Regions from separate parts of the Homo sapiens genome. Here regions 2, 3 and 4 are each linked to region 1. Evidence: promoter capture Hi-C in human tissues and cell types (Jung and others, 2019). All regions are on one chromosome and are shown on one strand. The core of a region is centred on a gene start or on the middle of the fragment in contact, and the rest is flanking DNA. Distances in the headings are between cores, read along the strand shown.

Evidence for each region. The method cuts DNA at HindIII sites, captures the fragments that hold promoters and counts their contacts. A contact is called where the count stands out against the background at its distance.
Region 2: a contact is called between a fragment that was not itself captured here and the fragment with the promoter of TDRD9 in region 1, in 1 of the 25 tissues and cell types used here (dorsolateral prefrontal cortex).
Region 3: a fragment that was not itself captured here is called in contact with the fragment with the promoter of TDRD9 in region 1 in 2 of the 25 tissues and cell types used here (adrenal gland and dorsolateral prefrontal cortex).
Region 4: a fragment that was not itself captured here is called in contact with the fragment with the promoter of TDRD9 in region 1 in 2 of the 25 tissues and cell types used here (dorsolateral prefrontal cortex and spleen).

The regions. Positions count from the first base shown.
Region 1 is chr14:103,927,099-103,929,787 of GRCh38, forward strand. TDRD9 (tudor domain containing 9) reads left to right here and starts at 1,358. Exons shown (of 36, transcript NM_153046.3): 1 at 1,358-1,626. The coding sequence starts at 1,412. The HindIII fragment of the contact is 10,851 bases long and covers 1-2,689 here.
Region 2 is chr14:103,588,884-103,591,572 of GRCh38, forward strand. It overlaps COA8 (cytochrome c oxidase assembly factor 8), which reads left to right. Exons shown (of 5, transcript NM_001370595.2): 5 at 1,298-2,013. The coding sequence ends at 1,403. Among named protein-coding and RNA genes, the nearest start is that of COA8, 27 kb to the left of the region's middle. RefSeq lists enhancers at 1,401-1,902, 1,903-2,402. The HindIII fragment of the contact is 3,008 bases long and covers 1-2,689 here.
Region 3 is chr14:103,635,422-103,638,110 of GRCh38, forward strand. All of the region lies in intron 1 of KLC1 (kinesin light chain 1), which reads left to right. Among named protein-coding and RNA genes, the nearest start is that of KLC1, 7.6 kb to the left of the region's middle. The HindIII fragment of the contact is 4,003 bases long and covers 1-2,689 here.
Region 4 is chr14:103,656,177-103,658,865 of GRCh38, forward strand. It overlaps KLC1 (kinesin light chain 1), which reads left to right. Exons shown (of 17, transcript NM_001394837.1): 3 at 1,370-1,600. Among named protein-coding and RNA genes, the nearest start is that of KLC1, 28 kb to the left of the region's middle. The HindIII fragment of the contact is 3,897 bases long and covers 1-2,689 here.

The sequences.
Region 1 (2,689 bases), core at 108-2,607:
AGCCCTGATTGCAGCACGGCACTCCAGCCTCAGCGACAGGAGTGAGACCCTGCCTCAAAAGAAAAAAGAAAAGCAAGTTATTTCTTCCTGGCAAAGTGTGTTGAGGCACTTTTGGGAACCTGTCGTATTTGGCAGAGTCCTAATATGAGGTCTAGAGCTCATTATGCCAGGATTTGGAGCCAGAACTCCTGGCTTAGTATGATTATGGGTTCAATTTTTGAGACACCAATAGCTCAACCTACCTGCCTGATTTCTGTCTACAGTGTTTTCAAACCGCCCTCTTATTTGCCACTGCTTGGGCTTTACACTGCTGATTAGAGCCATGCTCTCGATACCGTCTCTGTATTTGTTCACATGGCTCTTTCCTGAGAGCCCACATGGGCCAGATAGATCCTGCCCTGGCCAGTGAGGGGGACACACCCCAGGCAGGTGGCCATGTCTCTCTTCTGACCCTCCCTTCCCTTGCACACGTGGCTGCCTTCCCGTGCATCCTTTGTTGATTTCTTCCCGCGGCTCCTTCTTTTGGGGAGTTTGCTAGGGCTCTGTTCTCCACCCTCACTCTTCTAGAGCTCGGCCGGGACCACCTCAGCCTGTATCTTTGGTCCATGTGATCGCCTGGACCTCCTGTCCGCACCTGTTTGTGTCCAGCTGTGAGTCTGACACCGCCGCCTGAGACACCGGTTTAGGAAGGAAGATGAATTCAGTTATGATCCGGCTGCAAAGAACTTCTCCCAGATCCTCACCTCAGCCATCAGGGCCGCCTGCCCTCCCCTATAACCCTGGGTGGTCCTCCGTCTGGCGCATTCCCCCGTATCCTGCAGGGGTCTGCCTGGCGTTACTTTCTCCGAGACCTTCCTGACCTTCTTCTTGCCCCTCTCCCCCCATATTAGGTGCAAGGATGTCCTGGTACGTCTGACCCACGAACGCAAATCCCTTCTCTGGTTTGCCTTCCATCTCCTCACCCTGAGGTGCTCAAGAAACGTATGTAGGGTCCCGGTCCGCTCAAAGCGCACAAACCTCCGAGGCAGCAGCCTCTAAATAGAGAGGCCAGGGAGTGACCGGAGGGCATTTTCTTGTACACACAGGGGTTGCCACGGAACTCCCGTGAAACAGACTCCCGGGCCAGCCGCGGCGCTCAAGCTTCCCCTGAGGTCCTAGAAAGGCTCACCCTGGGCTCGCTCGGGGCGGCGGCTCCCGGCAGGCCTAGCGCGGCGGGGCGGGGCCGGCGGCACGAGGACCAGGCAGCGCGGGCAGCACGCGCCCGGGCCGGAGCCCGCCCACAAGGGCGCGCGGCGCGTTCTGATTGGAAGGCCTCGAGCGGGGGCGGGGCTTCCAGGGTGCGCTTCCGCCGTCGCCTGTTCCCGCCGCGGAGACCCGGCAGTTGGGGGATGCCGACGCCTGGGCCTTGAGGATGCTGCGGAAGCTCACCATCGAGCAGATCAACGACTGGTTCACCATCGGCAAGACGGTGACCAATGTGGAGCTGCTGGGCGCGCCGCCCGCCTTCCCGGCAGGGGCGGCCAGGGAGGAGGTGCAGCGCCAGGACGTGGCCCCCGGCGCTGGTCCCGCGGCCCAGGCTCCGGCTCTGGCCCAAGCTCCGGCCCGGCCGGCCGCTGCGTTCGAAAGGTAGGACGCGGGCGGGGCGGAGGCGGCTGGAGGGCGGCCGGGCGAGGCCTGGCGACGAGGGCACGGGCCATCCAGATCCTTCTCGCGAGCCCGTGCCCTCTCGCGGGGCTCCAGGGACCCCTGACCGTCCAGGGCGAGTGGTCACTACACAACCCGACGCGCGGCCCAGAGCGGTGCCTGTAAGGAAGCTGAGCTAGAGGTTTTTTTTTTTTTTTTTTTTTCAGTTCTTAATGTTTAACAGACTAGTTTTTGAGGCACTCAGGTTTTCAGGATAACGGAGCGGAGGGCAGAGGTCCCATAGGCCCCTTCCCTCCCAGAGTTTCCCCTGTGAGCATCTGCGTAAGGTGTGGGTATTTGTGACAGTCGGCGAACCTGCATCGCTGCGTCTTCGTCACCCGGAGGCCATCGTTACAGGAGGGTTCACGCCTCGTACTGGACGTTCTGTGGGTTTGGACAAACGCCTAACGTCACGCATTACAGAGTTCACTGACCTACAGATCTTCTCGGCCCCACTGTTCCTGCCTCCCTTTCCCTACACCACGTGGAAACCACTGATTTTTTTACTGTCTCCATAATTTTGCTTTTCCATACTGTCATCTAGTTGGAATCACACAGTATGTGTAGCCTTTTTGATGGGTTTCTGTCACTTAGTATTAGTATGCATTTGGGGGTTCCTCCATGCCTTTCCATGGTTTGATAGCTTCTTTCCTTTTAGCACTGATTAATATTCCACTGTCTGGATGTACCACAGTTTATCTCCATTCACCTACTGAAGGAGAGCTTGGTTGCTTCCAAGTTCTCCCCCCACCCCCCGAGATGGAGTCTCACTTTGTTACCCAGGCTGGAGTGGAGTGGCGCCATCTCGCCTCACTGCAATCTCCCCCTCCTAGGTTCAAGCGATTCTCCTGCCTCAGCCTCCCGAGTAGCTGAGGCTACAGGCATATGCCACCACGCCTGGCTAATTTTTGTATTTTTAATAGAGACAGGGTTTCACCATGTTGGCCAGGCTAGTCTAGAACTCCTGACCTCAGGTGATCTGCCCACCTCAGCCTCCCAAAGTGCT
Region 2 (2,689 bases), core at 91-2,590, 340 kb before region 1:
TGAGGGACAGTCTGACCTAAAGATTAGTCCTGAAATATCTGGATTCCATTTCTAAGGTTGTCATGTATTACTCTGAATTAGTTAAGTCATTCAAACAAGCGAGTATAATCTTTCCCTGGTCTTTGGACACGTAGCTTGTTTGCACGGGGCACAGTCTCTGATGGGCTTCATGTTTTCTCTGTGGCACTCGGGTGAAGAGGACCAGCCTTACCCAAGATCAGGCCTTAGAGGAGCCTGGCCCCCACCACCACCTCCTGCCCCTGCCTTCCCTGTGGCAACAGCAGAAGTGTAGCTTGCTTTTACATGTCATAGAATCAGGTCGTCTGTATTAGTGAAATGGAATATGGCTTTTCCTTGAAGAACTGTAATCCCCATGGGCTACCGGTTTTCTTCTCCTGGAAGCGCTTATTTACTTTGGGCACTGCTCCTCATGACAGCATTGCTTAAGTAGGTGGAGGTGTAAAGGTGGTTTGCAGGTGGAGAGGAACTTTCTGTCCTGCCATGCAGAGCCTCCAGAGTGGTCGTGGCCCATCACATCCCTAAAATGCTGCCAGCTCGGCAGGCCTGGGGTTTCCAAGGGCTCTCTTGGATCTTTTAGCAAAAATCAAAGGAGTACTTAAGAGGCTGAGGCAGAAGAATTACTTGAACCCAGGAGGCAGAGGTTGCAATGAGCCAAGATTGTGCCACTGTACTCCAGCCTGGACAACTAAGCAAGATGAAAAAACAAAACAAAAAAAACTCCAAAGGAGGGGCCGGGTGCGGTGGCTCACACCTGTAATCCCAGAACTTTGGGAGGTTGAGGCAGGTGGGTCAGGAGATCGAAACCATCCTGGCTAACACGGTGAAACCCTGTCTCTACTAAAAAAAAAAAATACAAAAAATTAGCCGGGTGTGGTGGCGGGCGCCTGTAGTCCCAGCTACTCGGGAGGCTGAGGCAGGAGAATGGCGCGAACCCGGGAGGCGGAGCTTGCAGTCAGCCGAGATCGCGCCACTGCACTCCAGCCTGGGCGACAGACCGAGACTCCGTCTCAAAAAAAAAAAACACCAAAGGAGGATGGTGGCGGCCTCCAGAAACAGGGCTGGAGAGGACTCCAGGCGTCGCCAGTGGGCCTCACTCTCAGCCTGAGGAGAGGCAGGCCTCTATGAATAGTTTAGCTTTAACAAGGGCAGGGAAAGGGCAAAGCAGTTGAGGCCTGGTCAGTTGAACTCATCCTCAACTGGGAGCCACTTCTGGGCCAGGGCACCAAGCCTCAGTCCCTGCCACCGTGTCACCTGTGCATCCTCTGTTTCTCTACAGAGATTGGTACAAGCGCAATTTTGCCATCACCTTCTTCATGGGAAAAGTGGCCCTGGAAAGGATTTGGAACAAGCTTAAACAGAAACAAAAGAAGAGGAGCAACTAGGAGTCCACTCTGACCCAGCCAGAGTCCAGGTTTCCACAGGAAGCAGATGGAGCTCCTTTCACAGGGGCTCTGAGAAAAACTGGAGCTGATCTCAAGAAGCCCCACATCTTCCTAAGGGGCCCCATGGCCTGTTTGGGGGCAGGGTAGGTCCTGGGGCACTGTGGGCCGCCTGCCTGCTGATGTGGGCTCTAGGCCAGCTTGTTGTCACGTACGTGGTGTGAAATAAAGCCCAAGCACTGGGTGCCCGTTTCCTGTGTTTCGAATTATACCAATTCAAAACAGAACTATTTAAAAATATTGGCCAGGCACGGTGGCTCACACCTGTAATCCCAGCACTTTGGGAGGCCGAGGCGGGTGGATCACTTGAGATCAGGAGTTCAAGATCAGTCTGGACAACATGGCAAAACCCTGTCTCTACAAAAAATTAGCTGGGTGTGGTGGCACGCACCTGTAATCCCAGCTGCTCTGGAGGCTGAGGCATGCGACGCTTGAACCCAGGAGGCGGAGGTTGCAGTGATCCAAGATCGCACCACTGCACTCCAGCCTGGAAGACCAAACGAGACTCTGTATCAAAAAATAATAATAATTAATAAAGTTTTACTGGAAAAAAGAAGTCTGCTGACGGGAATGATGTGGAAGCTGACTGCCAAGCGATCGGTGTGCTGGCCGTGGAGTCAGCACCACCCTCACTGTGAGTCGTCAGCTGGTGGGTCCTCACAGGCTGCGTCCTGAATGCAGTGCGGTGTGAGGACATGAAAGCAAATGCAATTTTATTGCATGCCAAAAAGTTTAACTTGATTCTTGGTGTTAACTATGTTAGTAGATTCTTCAATGCTATAAGCAAATTAACAAGAAACAGCAGCACTATTTTCCTCTTTTCTTAAACACGAAGGTTAAATGGCCAGGCATGGTGACTCATACCTGTAATCCCAACAATTTGGGAGGCCAAGGCAAGCAAATCACTTGAGCTCAGGAGTTCGAACCAGTTTGGGCAACATGGCGAAACCCTGCCTCTACAAAACATGCAAAAATTAGCTGGGCATGGTAGCATGCGCCTGTAGTCCCAGCTACTCGGGAGGCTGAGCTTCGAGGATTGATTGAGCCAGTGAGGTCCAGGCTGCACTAAGCCAAGATCCTACCACTAGGCAACAGAGCCAGACCCTGTCTCAAATAAAAATTTAAAAAAATAATAAAAAAGGCCGGGCGCACTGGCTCACGCCTGTAATCTCAGCACTTTGGGTGGCCAAGGTGGGCGGATCACCTGAGGTCAGTTCAAGACCAGCCTG
Region 3 (2,689 bases), core at 108-2,607, 290 kb before region 1:
CAAACTAGCTTGGGCAATATAGTGAGACCTTGTTTCTTAAAAAAATAAAAGGCTGTGCTTGGTGGCTAATGTCTGTAATCCCAGCACTTTGGGAGGCTGAGGAGGGCGGATCACCTGAGGTCAGGAGTTTGAGACCAGCCTGGCCAACATGGGTGAAACCTTGTCTCTACTAAAAATATAAAATTAGCCGCGTGTGGTAGTATGCTTCTGTAGTCCCGGGTATTTGGGAAGCTGAGGTAGGAGAATCACTTGAACCCGGGAGGCGGAGGTTGCAGTGAGCCAGATCGAGCCACGGCACTCCAGCCTGGGCGACAGAGTGAGACTCCCATCTCAAAAAGAAAAAAAAAAAGTAAAATAGGTACTGTTACTGAGATTCTACTGTTGAGGAATTTGAGGGTGAGAGAGGGGAAGTTTCAGAAACCAAAGTTACACAGCTGTGAAGTCAAGATTCTAACTCAGTTTTTTTGCTTCGCGGTATAAGCTTTGAATCACCTTGCAGTACTTAAAGCTGCAGCTTCAAGTGAATCATGATAATGCTGTTTAATCCTATCATTACTTTTTCTTGGGGAAACCTCGCGCCACTTCAATTTTTTTCAAAGATGTACCATTTTAACCATTTAAAAGTTCACAATTCAGTAGTGTTAAGGATATGCACATCGTTGTTCCACATTTCTGGAACTCTTTCATCTGGCAGCGCTGAGACTGTAGCCCCCAAATACTGATATCTCCTCCTCCCTCGCCCTCCCCCGGTAACCATCTTTTCTACTTTGTTTCTATGATTTTGACTACTTTCAATACTTTATTTTTTATTTTTTTTGAGATGGAGTTTCACTCTTGTTGCCCAGGCTGGAGTGCAGTGGCACGATCTCAGCTCACTGCAACCTCTGCCTCCCGAGTTCAAACAATTCTCCTGCTTTAATTTCCTGAGTATCTGGGATTACAGTCATGGGCCACCATGCCGGGCTAATTTTGTATTTTTAGTAGAGATGGGTTTCTCCATGTTGGTCAGGCTGGTCTTGAACTCCTGACCTCAGGTGATCACCCCCCATCGGCCTCCCAAAGTGTTGGGATTACAGGCGTGAGCCACCGTGCCTGGCCTTGCCTGTCTTTTTCATCTGAGCCATTCTAGCGGGGTATAGTGGCATCTTGTTAGTTTTAATGTGCATTTCACTGATGACTCATAATGGTGAGCGCTTACATGCTTGTCGGTCTTTGTATGCCTGGATTTGTAAAGTGTCTGTTCAAGACTTTTGCCCATTTAAAAAATTGGATTGTTTGTATTTTTAAGTTCCTTACATATTTATTTATTTATTTATTTTTGAGATGGAGTCTCCTCTGTTGCCCAGGCTTGAGTGCAGTGGCGCGATCTCGGCTCACTGCAAGCTCTGCCTCCCGGGTTCACGCCATTCCCCTGCCTCAGCCTCTGGAGTAGCTGGGACTACAGGCGCCTGCCACCACGCCCAGCTAATTTTTTTTTTTGTTGTATTTTTATTAGATATGGGTTTCACCATGTTAGCCAGGATGGTCTCGATCTCCTGACCTCGTGATCCGCCCGTCTTGGCCTCCCAAAGTGCTGGTATTAACAGGCGTGAGCCACCACGCCCAGCAGTTCCTTACATGTTTTTTTTTTTTCAGATGGAGTCTTGCTCTTGCTCTATTGCCCAGGCTGACGTATTTTTTATACAAGCCGTTTGCCAGATATATATGTGTCGCAAATATTTTTTCCTAATCTATGGCTTAACTTTATTTTTTGGTAGTGCCTTTTAATAAATCAATACTTTTAATTTTTCTTAACCATGCTCTGGCAAGTTTTATTAAAGAAATTTTCGGCTGGGCGCGGTGGCTCACACCTATAATCCCAGCACTTTCGGAGGCCGAGGCGGGTGGATCATGAAGTCAGGAGTTTGAGACTACCCTGGCCAGTATGGTGAAACCCCGTCTCTACTAAAATTACAAAAATTCGCCAGGCGTGGTGGTGTGCACCTGTAGTCCCAGCTACTTGGGAGGCTGAGGCAGAAGAATCGCTTGATCCCGGGAGGCAGAGGTTGCAGTGAGTCGAGATTGCGACACTGCATTCCAGCCTGGGCAACAGAGTGAGACTCTGTTTCAAAAAAAAAAAAGAAATTTTCGCAGGGTTTATTTTTATCTTTTATTTTTTGTTGTTGCCTAAGCAACATCCGCTTTCCTTAATTCTGAAAGCATATCTATAAATAAGTCACCCAAAGGCCAAATAGATGCATTTGTTTTGTCTGGTTGTTAATGTTTTCTTTTTAAAAAAATATTTATGTATTTATTTAATTTTTGAGACAGGATCTTGCTCTGTTGCCTAGGTTGGAGTGCAGTGTCACAGTCGTGGCTCAGTGCAGCCTCGTGTTCAAGTGATCGTCCCACCTCAGCCCCTGAAGTAGCTGGGACTACATGTGCGCACCACCATGACCGGCTTGTTTTTTGTAGAGACAGGGTTTCATGGCATTGCCCTGGCTAGTCTTTAACTTCTGGGCTCAAATGATCTGCTCTCCTTGGCCTCCCAAAGTGCTGGGATTACAGACGTAAGCCACTATGCTGGGCCACCAAGATACTATTTATTTCCCTGAATATGACGTGGACTGTTCCTGTAGGCTGGTCCCTTCACCTCAGGACCCTCTTTGCTGGTATTGTTTGGGGCTTCTGCGCCTGTATATGGGGATGG
Region 4 (2,689 bases), core at 100-2,599, 270 kb before region 1:
TGCTTACATTGCATTGGCCAGACCTTATGGCTGTACCTGGGTGAGTGGGAGACTGGGGAATGTTGTCTTCCCACTTACAGTGGCAGGTCCTTAAGCCTAAGGAAGGAGAATGGACACTGGCCAGTGGGTGATGGTCTCTGCAATCCCAGGGCCAGATTGCTTCATATCTTTGACTAACCTTTGTTTCTATAATATCATGCTTGACATAGAGATGAAAACACTGGAAACATCTAGGTTTTTAAATACTCTCTCCTGATAACTTCTGGCTCTGTCAGCATATCTTAGGTAAAATTAAATATACCAAAGCTTTGCTTCTTTCTTAGCATTCTCTAGTTTAGTGAGTGAATAGAGCAGAAGAGGGGCTGCTGGCCAGCGGTTTCTGCTTTCATAGAGGAAGTGACTGCCCACACCCTGATTTTAGAGTCTTCATCCTAACCATGTTACAGCCTTGAGTTGCAGAACTGTAGCTCTGTTTGGATATTGTGAACGTATTATTTCTCAAGTTCTGTTACCTTGAGAACAGGTGACATGAATTTAAACTTGCTTTTTTGGTGTCGCAGATAAGAGTTTTAAAAAAAGAAGGAAGAAAAGGTCCCACCTTCTGGAGTTTCAGGTTTTAAACCTAGGAGGATAATAACCTGGTTATTATGTTATGAGAGGGATGGGCAGATGTATGTTCTAAAGAGAGAACAGATTGCTGCCAGCCAGCTCCTAGCTGTTTGTGCTCTTATGCTCCTAGGAACTTGCCACAGCCTCACGCTGGTCTGTTCCAGAAACCAGTGAGCACTCTGTAGGCAGAGCCCTGGAGTGGCCCCTGGATTTTATGACATAAACATAAGCTTATGAGTGCACCAGTGCATTCTTACTCTTGGTGGTAGCTACAGAGATGTCTTCTCTCACCTTGGAACATCAAGGAAGATTTGTATGTGCACTGTTCTCTGACCCCCACTTGCAGCCCTTCACCAACATGCACTCTGTGCGCAGACATGCATGTGTGTACACGAGGTCTTACACATGGGAAAGGGTCTATAAAAAATTATGTTGGGCCCATCTTGATAGAAAGTAAAATAATACAGTTTCATCAGAAGGGTAGCTGTGTTTTCATTGCTAGTTCATTTGGCATGCTCTTCAAAAAAATAAGTATTTTTTTGTAGGCATTCTGAGCGTGTGATATTCTTTATCATACCCTGCTTTGTAGTCTGTGGCTGAAGGGGAAAAGAGAAGTAAATGGCAGATTGTACTTATATGTACTTTGGAGAAAATATCTGCGAGTGTAAGCTACAGCCCCAGCCACAGAATGTTCGCACGGGTGGGAGGGACTCTTGCTGGACAACGTGCCACAGTGCTGCACACGTTTCTGTCTGCTCAGGTTATGATGGCTTTGTCAAATCACCTGAATGCTGTGGAGTCCGAGAAGCAGAAACTGCGTGCGCAGGTTCGTCGTCTGTGCCAGGAGAATCAGTGGCTACGGGATGAACTGGCCAACACGCAGCAGAAACTGCAGAAGAGTGAGCAGTCTGTGGCTCAACTGGAGGAGGAGAAGAAGCATCTGGAGTTTATGAATCAGCTAAAAAAATATGATGACGACATTTCCCCATCCGTGAGTGGCTCTGTAGCAAATGTGGTGCTAATGTTTAAAATGGAGTCACTGGGAAAGTCATAGAGGTTCTGTTTGCCATATTCTTTTCATATTAGAACATATTAGAACATTAGAACATGCAAAAATGTTTTGTAAATATAAGCCACAATCCAGAGAGACACCATTACCTTCAACAAGGTCTGCCCCGAGGTCTGTCCCGAGGTCTGCCCCAGCTTAGGCTCTGGAGCTTCCTTGCCCCTCTGTAGCTTGGCTTCCATGCCATCAGCTGCTGGTCTAGCAGTGGTCCAATCTGGCCGTCTGAATTTGGACTCTGGGCAACCTCTCTGCCCCTTAGGGTGGGTGCTCTTGGCATTGCCATTCTCTTTGAAACTCCCCTGGCCCTCTGGACACCACCTGGCTCTCTTGCCGCCTCTCTCATCCTCCCCTTGGCTTCCCTTGCCAGCTTATCTTTCTGTATCTGCAGGGGAAGAAACGATCTTGGTTTTCTTCTTCTTCTTTTTTTTACAAGGAGTCTCGCTCTGTCACTCAGGCTGGAGTGCAATGGCACAATCTTGGCTTACTGCAACCTCCATCTCCCGGGTTCATGTGATTCTCCTGCCTCAGCCTCTGGAGTAGCTGGGATTACAGGTGTGTGACACCATGCCCAGCTAAGTTTTTTTTTTTTTTTTTTTTTTTTTTAGTAGAGATGAGGTTTCACTGTTTTGGCCAGGCTGGTCTTGAACTCCTGGCCTCAAGTGATCTGCCCACCTCAGCCTCCCAAAGTGCTGGTATTCCAGGTGGGAGCCACCATGCCCAGCCTTCTTTCTCTGTTGGCTCTATTTGGATGTTTATCCTAGTCTCAGTTATTTTTCATTCAACATTTATTTCTGATTCAGTTAACTTTTTTTTTTTTTTTTTTTGAGATGGAGTCTCACTCTGTCACCCAGGCTGGAGTGCAGTGGCACGATCTTGGCTCACTGCAACCTCCACCTCCCGGGCTCCAGCGATTCTCCTGCCTCAGCCTCCCGAGTAGCTGGGACTACAGGTGTGTGCCACCACGCCTGGCCAATTTTTTGTATTTTTAGTAGAGATAGGGTTTCATTGCGTTAG